Regions from separate parts of the Homo sapiens genome. Here region 1 is linked to region 2. The links are contacts of gene promoters, found by promoter capture Hi-C in blood cells and fetal thymus (Javierre and others, 2016). All regions are on one chromosome and are shown on one strand. The core of a region is centred on a gene start or on the middle of the fragment in contact, and the rest is flanking DNA. Distances in the headings are between cores, read along the strand shown. Region 1 has its middle 74 kb from the start of KLHL8. Region 2 holds the start of PTPN13 (protein tyrosine phosphatase non-receptor type 13).

Region 1 (5,931 bases), core at 2,852-5,351, 550 kb after region 2:
CCTTTATCTAACCTGGGTATTATGTTGGAAAAGGGGAAAGGGAAAAGTCACCGAACTTGATAGGTGGCAAATGGTGTCCCTGGTGTGTTTTATTCCATGATAGAGTATTTTTCCCTCACATTAAGCTGCCATTTGCAGTGCATGGGTTATGTGACTAGTATTCTAGACCCAGTTCAAATGCCCATCTTGGTAGATGGGGGGAAACCTGTTTTCACCAGTTATATAGATTGAGTTCACCACTCGGAAGGGTTCTGCTAATAAGGAAGGGGATGCTGAGCAGTAAAGAAAAGAAAGATGATCCACCAGGCTGAAAAATGCATCTTTTTCCTTTTGATTTATGTATTTAGAGGATATTAACCTTTTGTTAAGTATTTCTCTCCAAATTAAGTTTTTTATTTGTATTATGCTGGGCTTTAAAAAAAAAATTTAAGTCGGCAGTGTCCTTGCCGACTTTTGATGTCTCCATAAGGTGCATACAGACTATTTCCCAGATGCTGTACAAGGCAGTTTTACTATCACTGAATACTGGCAACTACTCTGTGAGGTTAAAGTGGTAGTCTCCCTTTGTGTTATTGTATTCGCAAGTATCTAGGCACTTTTGGAGCCTGCATTATTTGAATAGGTACTGGCTCACTATTTGCCAGGGTTGTCAGGAATGTAAATGGTCACAATCCAGGCTACTTTTAAGTAAGTCATCTAGGTGGTGCTTAGAACCCTCAAATCCATTCCAAATAACTTTGAAGCCCCATGTGTCTTTACCAGAATATAATCGGAGGTTTATCTGCTGTTACTTTGGTAGTGATTAGATAATTGTACTGTCTAGTCTGTTTTGTCTGAGGAACAGGACTCTTTCAGCGTTTGTGGTTTTCCAGTAGACCACACTCAGCTGAAAGCAAGACTGTACTGAGACACCAAGGCTCTGATAATAAGGGACTTTGCCCTTCCAACAGACTGAGGGCAGGCCTTGAAATGCTCTTTGAACACACAATTCTATTTTAGCTTTAAAAAGACCATGTGCCTCCCCTGGATAAGTGCTTTAAATCACCCTTCTCTATTATGGAGGCCCAGTCCTAACATCTCATTTACCTTATTTCATGTGTAGGAGGAAGAAACAATTACAGGTTCTGATATCTTCACTGCTAACTATTCCTATAAATTATCCTCTAAGAAACACTACCAACCCCTTCTCAAAAAAGGTGCATGAGCACATATTTTCTTAGGAATACTCACACTACTGGATGTGGAAAACCAGTCGTGCTCAACTGAATGAACTACAGAAAAATGCCTTTAGTTTTCCATCTTTGAACTACAATCTTTGAAGAAACTCCTTGTGCAGGTAAAACTTGGTACCCAGGACTGCAACTGAGGAATTCACAATCTCAAGGGAAGAAGCAAGTGATCCTGGTAGAGTGGTTTTAAAGAGCTTCCCAAGCTTACATATACACGAGAATGTAATTTTTCCATCCTATTTTTAAGCTGATTTACAAATAAATAGTAAAACAAATTACAGTTAGCCTTCCATATCCATGGGTGCTGCATTGGTGGATTCAACGGAGATAGAAAATATTCAGGGTGAAAAATTCCCACGAAGTTCTAAAAGACAAAACGAATTTGCCATGTGCCAAGTACTGTGTTGCATCCACGCGAATGAAGTGATGTGTAGTTATTGTATTGGGTATTGAAAGTAATGTAGAGATGATTTATAGTATATGGGAGGATGTGCAGAGGTTATATGCAAATATTGTGCCATTTTACAAAGGGACTTAAGCATCCATGGATTTTGGTATTTGTGGGGATCCTGGAACCAACCCCACACTTATACCAAGGGACAACTATATAGAGGCATACAGAGCAAAAAGTGAAAGGGCAAGTGTACTTCCTCCCCAGATTCTACGGCCATTAAGTTCGTGCGTATCTATCTTTCTACAACTTTTCTGTGCATTGTTTTTTACACTGTGTATCAGTCCTTTTTCAATGTCCAGCATATTTTGGCTACAAAGTACCATGTAATAAGATATGCCACCATTTATTTAAACATTTTCCCATTATGGGCACAAGTCACTCCTCCCCACAATATTCTGTGGTTACAACAATGTACTGAAGGAATCGTAGTACACAACATCTTTGTACATTCTTACAAGTATTCTATAGGATAAATTCCTGGAAGGGAAATGTCTGGGTCAAAGCATAAGCTAAATTTTAAATTTTTGATGTTACAGGCCGGGTGTGGTGGCTCACACATGTAATCCCAGCACTTTGGGAGGCTGAGGCAGGTGGATCACAAGGTCAAGAGATCAAGACCATCCTGGCCAACATGGTGAAACCCTGTCTCTACTAAAAATACAAAAAAAAAAAAAAAAAAAAAAAATTAGCTGGGCGTGGTGGCACGCACCTGTCCTCCCAGCTACTTGGGAGGCTGAGGCAGAAGAATCACTTGAACCAAGGAGGTGGAGGTTGCAGTGAGCCGAGATTGCGTCATTGCACTCCAGCCTGGCGACAGAGCCAAGACTGTCTCAAAAAAACAAATTTGATGTTACCAAACTACCTTCCCCACCAACTGCAGATGATCTTACATTTTTGCCAGTCGTGAGTGCAGTGCAAAAAACAAATCTTACAGTACTTTAATTGCATTTATCTGACAAATGAAGTGAACCATTTTATCACAAGTCCATTGGTCATTTGTGTGACTTTATGGATTGCCTATTCCTGTACTTAGTTCATTTTCTGAGATTGTCTTTTGCCTACTAGTTTGTAGAGTAAGAAGGTTGTACAAGGTTGATTGCCTCCAGTCAACTGCATGACTCTTCCTGAGTTTGCTCCACTGCCTACACCTCAGTAGGTATCACCTGTGAGCTGCTTACAACAGTTCCCACCTTTACCTTTCTTCTTACAAATGCTACAGGAAAAAATGATCAATCCTTGAGTGAGACTTTATGTGTGTCACCAACTCAGGATCTTTGGCATTTGAAGCTCCACTAATATCTTTTTACTACTTGTCCAAGCAAATGATATTTATTCTGGATAAAGTGGAAGCTGTTTAACATTGGCAGTTTTGAAACCCACTGAATGAATATGAATTTCATCATGGATTGTCTTTATGGCCTAGAGAGATCAAATCTAAAATTGTTTGCCAAATGTCAGTCCTGAACTTAACTATAGTCCTATTAACCTGATATTTGCTTATCTTGAATGAAGGTTAAAAAGAGGAGACTGGTTTCTTGTCCTTGTGAAATTTACTCACATCCAATCAATAGTTTCAGTGATTCCTTTGTGTAAAATTACATGCTTCAGTATGTGTGTAGGCATTAAAGCATAGGTTAGGGTGCCCAGCTCCTGGATGACATGTCTCTACCCAAGTTACAGGTAACTTGAGACCTGGTGTTTTTCCATTCAACTAGCCATTGTCTCTGCTTTCAGCCATTCCTCTTAACACAGATGTCACTATTCTAAAACTAGCACCCTGTGGACCCACTGTTCAGATTATTTCAAGCTTGAGAGCAGAGCATAAGCCAGTTTATCTGACAGGTGGAGGACAGCACTCCTCTTGTACCTATGTATTTGTCTGGAATTCCCCACAGCAAAACAGAGTCAACCAGCATTTTCCCCTTTCCTACATCCATGATACATTCCCGTCATTATAGCACAACACTGACCTAAAAAAGTAAAATTGTGGAGAAGGGGAAAGAAGTATATATGAAGCCACATGCCCTACGTACCTTCCATTGCTTGTACTTTGAAACCATCTTTCTTTCAAATTAGTCATTATGCTTTACAGATGACACGTGAGCCCAAGATAAGTACAGTCATCCCTTGGTATCCATGGGGGATTGGATCCTGGATTTTCCCCCATACCAAAATCCAAGGATGCTGAAGTCCCTGATATAAAATGGTGAAGTATTTTCATATAATCTACACACATCCTCCCCTATACTTTAAATCATCTCTAGATTACTTATAATTCCTAATAAAATGTAAATGCTATGTAAATAGTTGTTACATTGTTTAGGGAATGACAGTATGAAAGTCTGTGCCTGTTCAGAACGGATGCAACACCATCCCTTTCGCCACCCCCATGCCCTCAATTATTTGCAATTCACAGTGGGTTGAATCCATAGATGCAGAACCCAACAACAGAGGGACAACTGTAATCTGTCCATGGTTAGGGAGCCAGTAAAAGGTGAAGCTCAGATGATACAGATTTGTCTGACTTCAAGTTACGAAGGGGGTTTTGCTTGTGAGAATAAACTAGTGAAAATGTGGTTTTATAAGTTGCTTTAATGTAATCTGCAGCCAGTCTTAAACACTGTTACCATTTAACCACTTTTGGATTGTACTATAGACAATTAGACAGGTAATAAGACTGGACTGTTAATAGGCCTTAGAGGCTTTATAAACTGGAGCTTGAGAAAGAAGTCCTAAAAATCTGCAGTGATTAGCAACTCTTCTAATGCATCATTAGAAGCACATGGGGGATCACCCCATCCAATGCTGCTTTCCATGTTGCCCTGTGGATTTTCTCCATTTACCAGCACTAGTCAAGACACTAGTGCACCTCTAGTGACAGCTAAAATTGATAGTTTTTCTTTCCTTATTTGCATGAAGACATGTATTAATAAATAAAAGTTTAATAAAACACAAGTAAATGTTAGTGTAACACACATTTCAAGAAATGAGCATAAAGTAAATGTTTTTAAGTCATGAATAATGTAAACTAAGCTTTAATGGGTAAAATCCCAGGAAATAAGAAATAGTAACTGAAACAGGCAAGAGTATAAATTCCCCCAGGGTCCTCCAAGTTTGAGAGTATAGGGGCAGAATAAAACTTTAATTCTGAAGCTAGTGACCCTGAAGTTTGAATGCCTTGGCCCCCTCACCTGCCTTACACTGTCCAGGCAAAACAGCCAACCAGAAATAAAAAATATGGCACTGAATTACCATCCTTTACCTTGCACAAGTTACATGAATGTCTGGTACTATATTTCCTCATCTGTAAGAAAAAAGGAAGGAGTTGAAATATGATATCCTGAAGTGTATGAGATAAAGATACTGGTAATCAAATATTTCCCTGTTAAAGATGGTGTATTAAAATCTAAAAAGATACACAGAACTTATTAAAAAGACCACTGTCCTTTAAAATCATCTTGGTGGTTTCTTCACATGTATTACCACAGTTCAAAACAAATTTACAACAAAATTATTTAAAACTGCCTTCAGGGCCCAGCATAGTGGCTCACGCCTGTAATCCCAGCACTTCGGGAGGCCGAGGTGGGCGGATCACGAGGTCAGAGGTTTGAGACCAGCCTGGCCAACATGGTGAGACCCTGTCTCTACTAAAAATACAAAAATTAGCCAGATGTGGTGGCACACACCTGTAGTCCCAGCTACTCAGGAGGCTGAGGCAAGAGAATCGCTTGAACCCGGGAAGCGAAGGTTGCAGTGAGCCTAGACTGCGCCACTGTACTCCAGCCTGGGCGACAGAGCAAGGCTCTGTCTCAAAAACAACAATAACAACAACAAAAAAAACTGTCTTCAGAACTATGTGCAAGCATAGGTACATCCTATTTATTTTATGGTTGCTTTTCTACAAAGAGTTAAACAATACTATCCACATAAATAACTCATCAGACTTGGCTCCAAAACACAATTGCAAAAGACAGAGGATAAAAATGTGTCCCTATTAGATAATTTCAGTATCTACCTAAGTTGTTTTCTTTGGGCAATGATGGCAGCACCATTGGAGTAAGTTTAAAACCTCCATGTTAATTCTTTAAAAACCAGTATTCAGCCAGGCGCGGTGGCTCACACCTATAATCCCAGCACTTTGGGAGGCCGAGGCTGGAAGATCACCTGAGGTCAGGAGTTTGAGACCAGCCTGACCAACATGAAGAAACCCCCGTCTCTACTAAAAATACAAAATTAGCCAGGTGTGGT
Region 2 (5,487 bases), core at 374-2,873:
AGCCTGGCCTGTTATTTACTTTCACCACTTATCCCTGCTGCTGCTGTTTAGTTTTTGTTGTTCCCCTCAACTGACTTTCCTCATCTTTGCTGCATTCATCAAAGCCCAGTGTAAATTCCCCTCTTCCATAAACTGAGGAATCCAGCCCATTTTACATAGCAAACTTTCTCTTAGCTGCTACCTACTCAAAGTTTGGCTGCACATTTTAGCTATAATTGTTCTCAAATTGTTTCAAGAGTGCTAGTTTTCTTTCTTAGGCTCCAGGTTAGCTCCTTGGGAGCGGGGACTTAGCTTAAAATCCTGCTGTGTATTTTCCGTTGTGTTTAGCCCTATGAGTAATCACATTCAATGCATACTTGTAAGGCATATTTGACTGAAGATATCTATCATAGTTATTCATTTAGTAAATGATATAATGAAAACTCAAGTGCTCGCCAAAGATAAATCATTACTATTAATTCCCTCATTCATCATACATGTATGGCAGCCTCAGGGGCTAGGGAACCTAGGATTGCTGCTTTGACTTTTTTTGGGGAAGCCAAATAAGCCTCAGATCTCTCCACTTTGGAGCCAGCCATGAAATTCAGATTTACCTAGGGCTCAACATTAAGGGTCTCAGACTAAATTTATCTTCAGGTACCCTTTCCAGAGTGGACCAGTTTACCTTATACCTCTGAGAATAACCCAAAACTTTCAAAACTCAAATCACAGGATATTATTTGTTCATGAATTCAGCAAGACTCTCTTGTTTAACTATTGAAACTCAAATATTTCGGCTTGCAGCAAGGAGGGGTACAGCTGTCTGGATATACCTTGGCCAAATTTCAGTGTATATAGAAAAGTGGGAGGTTATCGACTATGTTAAACCTTTTCCTTAAATTTTCAAACTTCGGGATTATTTTAGTCTCATAGATAAAATAACAAGGCAAGTATTTACAAACTTTTTTCAAAAATATGAGAATTTCAGTTTTCCCTAGGGCATTTGGCGTTGTGCTGTCACCACACTTTTGAAGATAGCTTTACAACCGTGGGAAAACTCACCGGGCTTTTTTCGTTGACCCCGCCATTTCTAAGTTGCTATATTGCTGCAAGGAGCTGGCAAAGCCATGCTCTTCCTCTCCCCCATTCTCCTCTTCCTTTCAAAGACCAAAGCGCCCCGTGAGAATATAGAAACAAGGCTGAGAGGCAGCGAAGAGTAAGGGAGGAGCCAGCACTTACGCATTTTTCACTCTCCTCCTCACTCCCTAGGGTCATAGTTTTGATTCTGAAGTTAGAAGTGTGGGGGTCGTCGGCTGCATTTTCAACTTGGCCTAAAAGTTGGAGTTCACCACACTGCAGGCGCTAGGAACTCTGCCGCTCGGTCACCAACCTGAGCCTCTGGCTAGTCCGAAGAACGCGAAAAGCCAGGCCCAAGGCACTGGTTGTCATGGCAACCGGGGCGCTGGTCTCCCTGGCGACCTCGTCCCTAGGGAGGAGGTGGAGCTGGATGCCAGGCGGGCCAATGAGGTCGAGGGGAGCTCGGGGTGGGAGATCTGCGGTCCTCCCAGTGCCGGGGAATGGTTGAGTGACAGGACCGGGGGGGCGGAGCCGGCGCGGCTGCCCGAGGTGGAGCCCCAGTGGTGCGAGTAGCTCCAGCGGCCACGCTGAGGCGAGGGTGACACACCATGCTCACGGCCCCTGGAGACCGTCGTGCTGGCGAGCCGTGCTCCGTAGCTCCCCGGTCCGCCTCGGCAGCGGTCAGAGTCGCCTACAGGAGTTGAGCCGCCCGCGCCAGAAGGTTTTGGCGAAGCTCTTGGAGAGGCGTCGAGCACAGTAGGGCGGCGGGGGTGCGTTGAGCGCTCGGGGGTCAGGCAGTCGGCCGGGATCGCCGCTGGGGAGCGTTTCCGAGGCGAGGAGGAGGAGGAGGAGATGCTGCTCCTCTTCTCCCCCTCCCCAGGCTCCTTCTACAGCTCCTTCAGCCCACGCCCGCAGCCGCTTGTGGGAGAAGTGGTGGTGGCTCTCGGCGCCCGCGGCGGCTGCCGGCGGCCCGCCCCGACGCCGCGTCCCTGCAGCCCTCGCCCGGCGCTCCAGTAGCAGGACCCGGTCTCGGGACCAGCCGGTAAGGACGAGAGCCGCCCTGGGCTCTGCGCTGCATGTGCAGAAGTGCAAAACAAAGTACATTGCGCTCGTTCTCTTCCTCCTCTCTCTGCTTTCGCTCCAGTCCCTAAACCCAACTCCTCGGTTGCCCTGGTAGAAGGAACTTTTCTTTGGTTTTGGTGGTGGGTGTTTTTGTACGTTAGAGTGGGGGTGGGGTGACTGGAGTGGGGAAGAATGAGATGAAACTCCATTGCTAATTAGGTAGATCCATCTCCTCTGCGGAAGAAAGCCGGATTCTCGGGAATGAAACCCACAGGGGGAGTAAGAGATTGTGGGGTAATAGGGAGTGACATTGCCCCGTCGTGCTTGCACAGCTCCGCTCTGTGCGTGCTTAAGGGAAGGGCTCCCGGAGTCTGTTTCTAATTTCTGCAAATGATTGTGGAGATGGTGTGGTTAGAGGCCGCCCAGAAGAATGTGTGTGTAAGGGCTCGAGAAGGGGGTGGGATGGCGGGGAAGCAGAGGAAGAGGGGGCAGAGGGAGAGACACTGTCTGATGCAAGGTCTTTTATTGCTTTTCTTCTGCTTGCTAAAGTTAACACTCTACCCTCCGGCCCCCTAGCCCCACCGCTTTGCTCATTACGTGATACTGTAAGAGCAGACAGCTGGGAAGCTAAAGTTAAACCAAAGTCAAGAAAATTCTTACAAAGTTTAATTTCCTTCTGTTGTGAATATAATGGAGAGAGGAGGATGGGGAGAAATATCACTAAGAGATTTACAGCAATACAGTTTTCATTGGCCATACACGTATATGATCGACACCACCGCACACTTCCAACTAATCTGTTCGACAGCCTTGTGTCATTTTCATTTAATTGCATCTTTGAAACAACAAACGCGGTGACTTCATAGGGAGCTGCCTGGAGCTGAGCTCCCTCGCAGAAAATGGGGCAATCGGGTTTGTTTTCAAGGCAGGACCTGAACAAAATGTAGGACACCTGATCTGTGGGATGAAGGGCGCTGGTAACTAATTATAAATTTTAAGATTTTAAAATTTATATCTAGAAAGTTTACTAAAGGATGGGGGGGGGAGTAAAAGTGCATGTATTATGAAACAAGCTTAGGTATTTTCCTAAAGTCTTCATGACTGTGTTGGCAGGGTCCAGGTGAAAACTTGCTTCATGCTCATTGGCTGCTTGTAGTGGTGCCAATATACAAATTATTTCTCGTTTTAATATCACTAGGAGCATTTGTTAGTAAATTCATACATATATTGATTTAGTAAATTTATACAGAGGCGCACTGACTGACGTCCAATCTTGTTTATTATACTTTGTTCATAACATTGTGTTCTACTTGATGTTCTAGAGGCTTTGTGGGAGTATGTGTGGGGAGAGGATAGGATGGAAATTAGAACTAAAAACAGAAAAATATTTGAGGTTAGTTGTTAAGAAAAGGACTGATTTCATAGTGTTTTTCACTTTTACAATTAGAGAATGATAGCTTGCTTTACCATTATGTAGGTTTATCTTTGAATTTGCATTTGTCCCACCATTTTTACTTGCATGTAAAGCCTAGTTATATTTTGGAGGGTGATTACCAGCATCCAAAAATATAAATGGCTTTTCATGTCACAAGTAACATACACGCACACCATTAAAACCAGTGTCAATTTAAAAGTCAGATTTTAATTCTATGATGGGGTCACGTTATAAAACTTAGGTCATCTTTTTGTTGTTGTTTTTGAGGGCTGCCTCCTAAATACGGTATGTGAATGTGAGAATTAGCTAATCATTTGTTTTGGAGTAGATAATATAAATGATAGGTGTTCATCTTTAAATGAATGAAATTTATGTATTCTTTGTTATTGAGAAAAACGGGTGTTGATTTGTTCTGTCTTTAATGTGTTAAGGATTGGATGGGGAAGTGTTGTAGCTTCTCCCGTATCAATGGGGTGTATATTTTTCCAGCTCATCTTAGTGCCCAGCCCCAAATGTACTGGAGAGAAGGACTGTAAGGGATAAACTATTACTTCTTTTTTTTCCTCTTCACCCTCTTCTTTTGACAGAGGGTGTAATTTTTAAATAAACCCCAAAACATTTTTATGCATAATTAAATTATAATTAACACCATTTGAAATGAAAAAGAAACACAACCATACTCCAAGCCAGTGCATTTAGTAGTTACTCCTGTCAACATATTCTTGTTTTGGAATATGCTTTGGGAGAACTCTGTGTAGTTCAAAGTATTCTCCTGTTTGCCTCTGATGCAACCAAGTACGACTCATTTGAGTTAATATCACTTTACAAGGTAGGGGCCTGAGAAAGGAGAAAAGATAATGGGCCTTAGGATAGAAGAATCAGTGCTGATGGAAATGACGAGAATCTTTTGGGCTGGGCTTCCTTTTTTTTTTTTTTCCCTGAAAAACTCTCTTTTAATTTGAAAATTAAAATGGGTCAAATAACTTAGGAACTAAATGTTTTAAAGATAGCTTTTAAGATAGGGTCTCTGTTGCCCAGTTTGGAATGCAGTGGCTCGATCATGGCTCACTGCTGCCTCAACTTACCAGGCTCAAGCAATCCTCCTAACTCAGCCCCCAAAGTAGCAGGTACCACAGGTGTACAACACCACACCTAGCTAATTTTGTTTATTTTATTTTTTTAAATAGAGACAATGTCTCGCTGTATTGACCAAGGCTAAAAGATAGCTTTTAATGAGTACATTAATGTAGGACTTTTAATGGCTTAAGTTAAAGTTGAAAGTTTCATACTAGCTGTAAATGTCCCATCAAAACTCCCGTCTGTAAACTGCTTTGGGAGGTGGAGTTCTAATAATCCTTTGAGTTTGGGAAGAAAATGAAAACACCTTTAAGACCCTTATTCTTGTTTAGTGTCAGGCACTGTGAATAAGCACCCTGCTCTATCCTGCCCAACCCTGTTCCCAAGAATGTGTGACTGTCACTAATAGTAAGGCAGTAGGTGGGCCATTTCTTAGGATAAAAAGAGAAGAATTCCTAAATAATCTTGTATAGAGGCTGGTGTAGATTTAAACCATAAACTTCACATGTTTTTCCCAGAGTTTGCTATCAAATGCATGGGAAATACAGGAACAGGGTCTGGTTCAAGTGCTTGTTTAGATGTGTTTGCCTTATCCTGTGCTCTGCCATTGAATCCTGCTTTTTTAATTTTTGTTTTGTTTTGATTTGTTTTCACACTGGAAAAGTATGAAAATTCTCTGAAACAAACTGTCTCAAAGAAAATCCTTCTGCATAGTATAAAAAGTGTGGAGGACTGCTGTCTGACAAATATGTATCCAAATCCTAGAGACTAAGTTTATTTTTAATAATTTAATAATATATACTTCTCAAGGCTTTTTTGCTTTGTTGTGCTTTTTTTTTTTTTAAGATGGAATCTCG

The links. Contacts are between HindIII fragments. The CHiCAGO score rates a contact against its expected background, and 5 or more counts as called.
Region 1: a fragment that was not itself captured here is called in contact with the fragment with the promoter of PTPN13 in region 2 in 1 of 17 cell types (erythroblasts); the score reaches 5.6 in erythroblasts.

The regions. Positions count from the first base shown.
Region 1 is chr4:87,143,656-87,149,586 of GRCh38, forward strand. No RefSeq gene overlaps it. Among named protein-coding and RNA genes, the nearest start is that of KLHL8, 74 kb to the right of the region's middle. The HindIII fragment of the contact is 1,226 bases long and covers 3,489-4,714 here.
Region 2 is chr4:86,592,692-86,598,178 of GRCh38, forward strand. It overlaps PTPN13 (protein tyrosine phosphatase non-receptor type 13), which reads left to right and starts at 1,624. Exons shown (of 48, transcript NM_080683.3): 1 at 1,624-2,098. It also overlaps a transcript of MAPK10 not described here. RefSeq lists an enhancer at 1,275-1,861. The HindIII fragment of the contact is 4,151 bases long and covers 1-3,189 here.